2 separate regions of the Homo sapiens genome follow, and region 2 is linked to region 1. The links are contacts of gene promoters, found by promoter capture Hi-C in human tissues and cell types (Jung and others, 2019). All regions are on one chromosome and are shown on one strand. Each heading gives the region's core, a stretch centred on a gene start or on the middle of the fragment in contact. The rest is flanking DNA. Distances are from core to core; before and after follow the strand shown. Region 1 holds the start of GGT5 (gamma-glutamyltransferase 5). Region 2 overlaps CABIN1 (calcineurin binding protein 1).

Evidence for each region. Contacts are between HindIII fragments. The study calls those that stand out against the background at their distance.
Region 2: a fragment that was not itself captured here is called in contact with the fragment with the promoter of GGT5 in region 1 in 10 of the 25 tissues and cell types used here (aorta, bladder, dorsolateral prefrontal cortex and 7 more).

Annotation. Positions count from the first base shown.
Region 1 is chr22:24,243,465-24,246,454 of GRCh38, forward strand. It overlaps GGT5 (gamma-glutamyltransferase 5), which reads right to left and starts at 1,618. Exons shown (of 12, transcript NM_004121.5): 1 at 1,089-1,618. The coding sequence starts at 1,261. RefSeq lists enhancers at 399-954, 955-1,510, 2,623-2,990. The HindIII fragment of the contact is 14,830 bases long and covers 1,413-2,990 here.
Region 2 is chr22:24,058,827-24,061,816 of GRCh38, forward strand. It overlaps CABIN1 (calcineurin binding protein 1), which reads left to right. Exons shown (of 37, transcript NM_012295.4): 11 at 401-537; 12 at 1,098-1,315. Among named protein-coding and RNA genes, the nearest start is that of CABIN1, 49 kb to the left of the region's middle. The HindIII fragment of the contact is 4,065 bases long and covers 1-2,990 here.

The sequences.
Region 1 (2,990 bases), core at 368-2,867:
ATGGAGGGAAGAAGGAATGAATGAAAAGGTGAATGAATGAACAGAGAGAGAGAGCAGCCACTCCTCCCTTGCTTTAATTTACAAAGCACTGGGATCCTCCCAACAGCCTGCAAGACAGAACTTCTGGGAAGCAGACCAGGTGGCTGGCAGGGAGGGGAGGCTTGCCCTGGCTTTTGTGGGCCCAGTGGGAGGCAGGGAGCAGGAAGGGGCATCCTGTATGTGTCCTCTGCAGCAGCAGCAGCGGAGGCCTCCCTTGGGCTGGGCTTCCTGGAAGAGGGTCAGGAAACACCCGCTGTGGCCCCTCTCCACCACGCCCTCATCCAGGACACCAAGTATCAGTCACTCAGCTCACGAGACCCAGGCCCTGACTCAGGGAGAGAGGATGTGAGGGGTGGGGCACCGGGCTCCTCAGGACTGAGAGACCCGAGATGTGGCCCCAGGCTGGGTGTTGGGGCAGACTGGCTATGGCAGCATTGTGTGTACCCCAGCAGGCCAGTACCCACGCAGGGAGCCTCCAAACCCCTTCACCCATGACCCTGGGAGAAGACCGCAGCCTTGGAGAATTGGCCTCACTGAAGGGGCCTGCACCGGCCAGCAGGGTCAGGCGGGGCCAGACAGGTTCCCACCTGGGATATGCAAATGGGCCTCCTGAATCCTGGAGCCAGGCGTGGACTCACACACCACCATTGTCCCCAAGTCCCCATCTGCCCCACGAGCACACCCTGCCACCTGTTCTGTGCAAGGGCCCTGAGGCTGCCTCCTTGCGCCCAAGACCTGCAGGTGCTGAAGCCCACACACACACGGCTCCTGCTTCCTGGGCCAGTGCACGTGCACACACACACACACACACACCCACCCACACATACACATACCCACACACAATCACACACATTCACACACACCCACACTCCCCACACTCACACTCACATACACTCACACACACCCACACATGCATGCAATCACACATACCCAGACACTCACACACACACCCACACATACATTCACTCACACACACACACACACACACGCCTTCTCCAGGAGGGGCTGGCTGCCAAGGGCCACCCAGCTTCCTCCCACGTCTCACTCACCGTCCAATATCCGAGCAGACCTTGGAGTCGGCGGCAACAGCAGCGTGGGCAAAGGCCTGGGGGCCACATGGGGCCTGGTGTCGAGAGAGGACCACAGCCAGCACAATGACAGCCAGCGCCAGCCCCAGACCCAGCAGGACTAGGCTGACCGTGGCCCCGTAGCCCCGGGCCATGGCTCTGCAGCCCAGGAGGAGAGGGGCGGCTGGTGGGCAGACGGAGGGACGGATGGGTGGGCAGATGAATGGACAAGAAGATGCACAGAGTCACAGGTAATTGGACAGATGGACAAACAGGTGGGGGCTGAAGACAGACACGAAGATGGATCGACAGATAGGCCAGATAGCTAGACAAAGAGGACAGTAAGAGAAAGATGGTCAGATAGACAATGGGACAGAGATGGGCTTACAGATGGGCGGACAGACAGACAGGTCTGAACAGCGGGCTGCCAGATGGACAGATGGGTGAATGGACAGATGGCTGGCAGCTGTGGCGAGCTGCTGCCCTCACCAAGTGCACACTACGGAGTGGCCAAACTCACGCCTCAACTTCTGGTTTTCAGCTCCTGCTTGTTGCTGGCAGGAGGCCAGGCAGCAAAGCGTCTGAGGGGAGTTTTCCTTGCCTAGAGGAGTCAGCTGCTGTGTTAACTCCCTCACTGCTAGTAGGTCCAAAGGCCCCACCTACCGCCCGCCAGAGCCCAGGGTCACACTGTCGCAATGTGCAGGAGAACTTGGTGCCTGCTGCACTGCGGTTGCCAGGTAGGGGCAGGGCTCCCTGGAACCTCCACACCATTCCCCGGGTTCCCGGCAGCTCTGGGAAAGCAGAGCTGGGGCCGCTCAACTCTCTCCCCTGGATCCGGCAAGGCTGCCCCCCTCCCAGAGTGGAGCCCTGCTCCCCAGCTCCCATCTCTATCCCCTAACCCTCTCCTCATGGCCCAGCCTAGTCAGCATCAAGGTGGAGCTGAACAGAGGCAGAGGGAGGGGGACACAAGGTGGTGTCACTTAAAACTTGGGTTCAAGTCCTTATGCTTCTGCAGCCTGGCCTGGGTCCCACAACTCCCCAGGGTGGCCAAGGGCTTCCCAGTCTGCACAGAGGACAGGGGGACTTGACAGCATCAAATGCTGGTGACTACAAGACGCCCATGTGGGGAATGCAGACAGACCATGCCTCTAGCCCTTGGCATCCGGGACCATTTGTCCAGGACTTGCTGTCCTGGAAATGCAGCATGGACCTCCAGGGAGGGAGGCTGTGTGGAGGCCACGCCCTGCCTGTAGCTCTTTCCCACCCTAGCTGCGGGTCTGCTTCCCTGAATCCAAATCCGCTATTACTGTGCTGGCAGCGCAGCCTCTCTAGGGACACTGGCCTGGCTCTGTTCTCCCCAGGCCTCAGGGTGCCTAAATGGGAGGCAGCCAGGAGAGTGAGGACCCACTGAGGGGCTCTGTTGACCAGGCTCAGCAGGGGTGCAGGTGATGTGGGCTGGACTTCTTCCCACGTGGCCCCCACAGTCCTCCCCGCTTCCTCCCCAGCTGAACACTGCCTGCTCCAGATGTCTACACCTGGAAGCCGGGCCCCCCCATCTGGGCAGCAGAGAAACTGAGGCACAGAGACAGACTGTGTCCTTACAGGCCACACAGCCTGCCAGGCCCCTATGTCCAGCCAGAGCCCCTGGTCAGCCTGGACTGGAATGATTGTTTAGAGGCAGGCTGTTCCCACGGCTGCCTCTCGCGGTGGGGGGCCTGTGGATGCCTCCTCCCGCCCCCACCCGACTCCCAAGCCTCAGTGACATTGCTCAACCAGGAGCTGAAGTGCATTCCTGGGCTTAGGCCAGCCCACCCACCCACCCGCTGCAGTCCTGGAAGCTCAGAGGCCTGGGCAGCAGGAACAGTGGAGACAGCAGCGTGGGGG
Region 2 (2,990 bases), core at 241-2,740, 180 kb before region 1:
ATAGTCTCAAGCACTCTGTTGTGAGGTGGTCCTTATTTGGGTTAGTTTGTGTACCTGCTTATTGGCTGTGTCTCTCTAGAGGGTAAGCTTACTGCAGGCAGGATCTGCCACATTTAGGGCTGCTGTATTTGGTGCCTAGCACAGTGCCTGGCACATAGCTGGTGCTCGGTAATCATCTGTTGATGAGATGAATGACCGAGACAGGATACAGACCAAATGCTGGCTCATGAGGCCCTGGAGAGAGGCAGAGCCTCCTGGAGGCCTGGGTTCTGGACCCCACCACCCACTTATTTTAGCTGCCTTCTTCCTGACTCAGATTTAGTTTCTCTAACAGGAAGAGTTCAGATGCTTGTGTCAGAACGTGTGTTGTGACTTTGTGATTTTGGCATGTTACATGCAGGTTAAGAAAGCTGGACCCTGAGGAGGAAGATGATTCCTTTAATAACTATGAAGTCCAGTCAGAAGCCAAACTGGAAAGCTTCCCAAGCATTGGGCCTCAAAGGCTGTCATTTGACTCAGCCACATTCATGGAATCTGGTAGGAATCGAGCAGTGTGACCATTCACTTTGGGAATTCTTCTTCCCACTATCCTATAACCTGCTTATGTTTTGTTCTGGGAGAATGGTTCTGGGGTGTTTTTTAGTGTGGCCAAGAGTCTGCCTGGATTAGTCTTGGACCTAAGCCCTGTGGTCAGCTTGGAGGTCTTCTGAAATGTCCAGGCTCATACTTGCTATGCTTTCTTATGGCCAAATTCAGAGACTTCGCTTTGCAAATTGAATCTATATAAGCACACCTGTTGAGTGTGTATCAGTGTATAACTGTTGAGTGAGATTAGTGCACATGGCAGCACTTGGAGGTCTGCCCTTTTGATGTCCACCTTAGATACGGAGATTCAGAGAGGCTCAATCATAGCTGCTGAGGGTTGGAGCCAGGCATTGAACCCAGTAGCCTGATCTCAGCACCACAACGTGGTATCATGTCCACCTGGATCAGATGGTAGAGGGAGGGAACAGTCTTTACTGTCCCAAAGTAAATAGGAGACCCTGGCATGGAAGGTACTCTTTATTCAAGTCAGGTTGTTCTTGCTCCCCGGGCAGAAAAGCAGGACGTGCATGAGTTCCTGCTGGAGAACCTAACCAACGGGGGCATCCTGGAGCTGATGATGCGCTACCTGAAAGCCATGGGCCACAAGTTCTTGGTAAGGTGGCCTCCAGGCTTGGCGGAGGTCGTGCTCAGCGTCTACCACAGCTGGAGGAGGCACAGCACCAGCCTGCCCAACCCGCTGCTGAGGGACTGCAGCAACAAGCACATCAAGGTTAGGGGGAGCCTCTCAAGGGCTGGTATTGAACTGGGACCAGGGCATGGGGACAGGGATCTTGCATGGGTGTGGGGCTGCTGTTGTGTTTGGCTGCATCTACTTGTGGGCCTGGAACCTGGTTTTTTTGTGGGTGTCGAAGCAGGAAGTCACTGAACCTAGTTTGTGCCTAGAAAGCTCCCTGATGGCTGAGTGGAGGATACACTTAGGGGTGAGAGTGGGCTCACGGGGCTATCAGGAGGCTGCTGCCATGCCAGGGGAGCAGTGGCTGAGATCCAGTGGTAATAGTGGGGTGCTGGTTTGTGGTTGCAGAGCTGATAGGTTGAACTAGACATGGGATGTGTGAGGGAATGAGAGTCATGGGGAGGGCTTCTCGGGTTGTTTACTGAGTCACAGGAAGCCTTGCCAGGAGAAGCTGGAGGAAAGGGAAACATTTGGTTTGTTTGAGTTGGCAAGGACTGTGACTGAGGCTTTTGTTGTTGTTGTTTGAGACAGGGTCTTGCTCTGTTGCCTAGGCTGGAGTGCAGTGGTGCAGTCACGGCTCACTGCAGCTTCAACCTCCTGGGCTCGGGTAGTCCTCCCACCTCAGCCTTCAAAGTAGCTGGAACCACAGCCGTACACCACCACACCCGGTTATAGTCCCAGCTACTCAGGAGGCTGAGGCAGGAGAATGGTGTGAACCCGGGAGGCGGAGCTTGCAGTGAGCCGAGATGGCGCCACCGCACTCCAGCCTAGGCGACAAGGCGAGACTCTTGTCTCAAAAAAAAAAAATTTGTTTTGTTTTGTAGAGATGGGGGTCTCCTTTTGTTACGATGTTAGGATGTGGTCTTGCCATGTTGCCATGTTGCCCAGACTGGTCTGGAACTCCTGGGCTCAAGTGATCCTGATGCCTTGGCATCCCAAAGCACTGGGATGACAGGCGGGAGCCACCATGCCTGGCCTATGACTATTTTTAACAGATGATAAAACAGCAGAAGCTAAATAGCGTGCTTAGAGAAGCTTTGGGGGCCACCAGCAGTAGGGGGCTGAGCCTCACTGAGCCTTGTCTTCCTGCTGCATTCCACACCCCAGCCTCCTCCACTTGGTGCCTCCTGGAGCTCAAGGGAACACAAGGTGCTCTGGCCCCTTACTCCTGTTGGAGGTGGGACACTGAATGCTGAAGCAGGAGCACCAGGAACATTCAGGGATGCCTGGTGGTCTTTCTGACTTGAGAGCACAGGAGGTAGAAGAGCTTGTAGGTCAGTCATCCCTTGGTGGGCACCCTCCACTGAGTTACCTCAGGGCAACCTCCTGGCAGCTTCTGCCCACCAGGCCATGCTCCCCTGGGGCAGTTGTGAAACAGCAGGAGGAACCAGGGCTTTGATCCCCAGGCAAAGCAGGCTGATGATCACCTTCCAGCTGTGCCCAATGGGCAAGTGCCTTCTCATCACTGAGCCTCAGCTTCCTCAAGTGCCCTGGGAATGGTATACCAGCTGCCCAGAACTTTTAAGGGTTGAGTTCTATAATTTGGATGCAGTGTCCGTCCCAGCACTTGGCAGGTGACAGGGCTGCCTCTTCAACAGGACAAGAACTCTGAAGACCGGTCTCCTGGCCTCTCCCAAGTCTTGTCCCAACATACATCCATGTGGCTCTTTTTATGTTCTGGCGAGTAGCCACTGATTATCACTTATGAAAT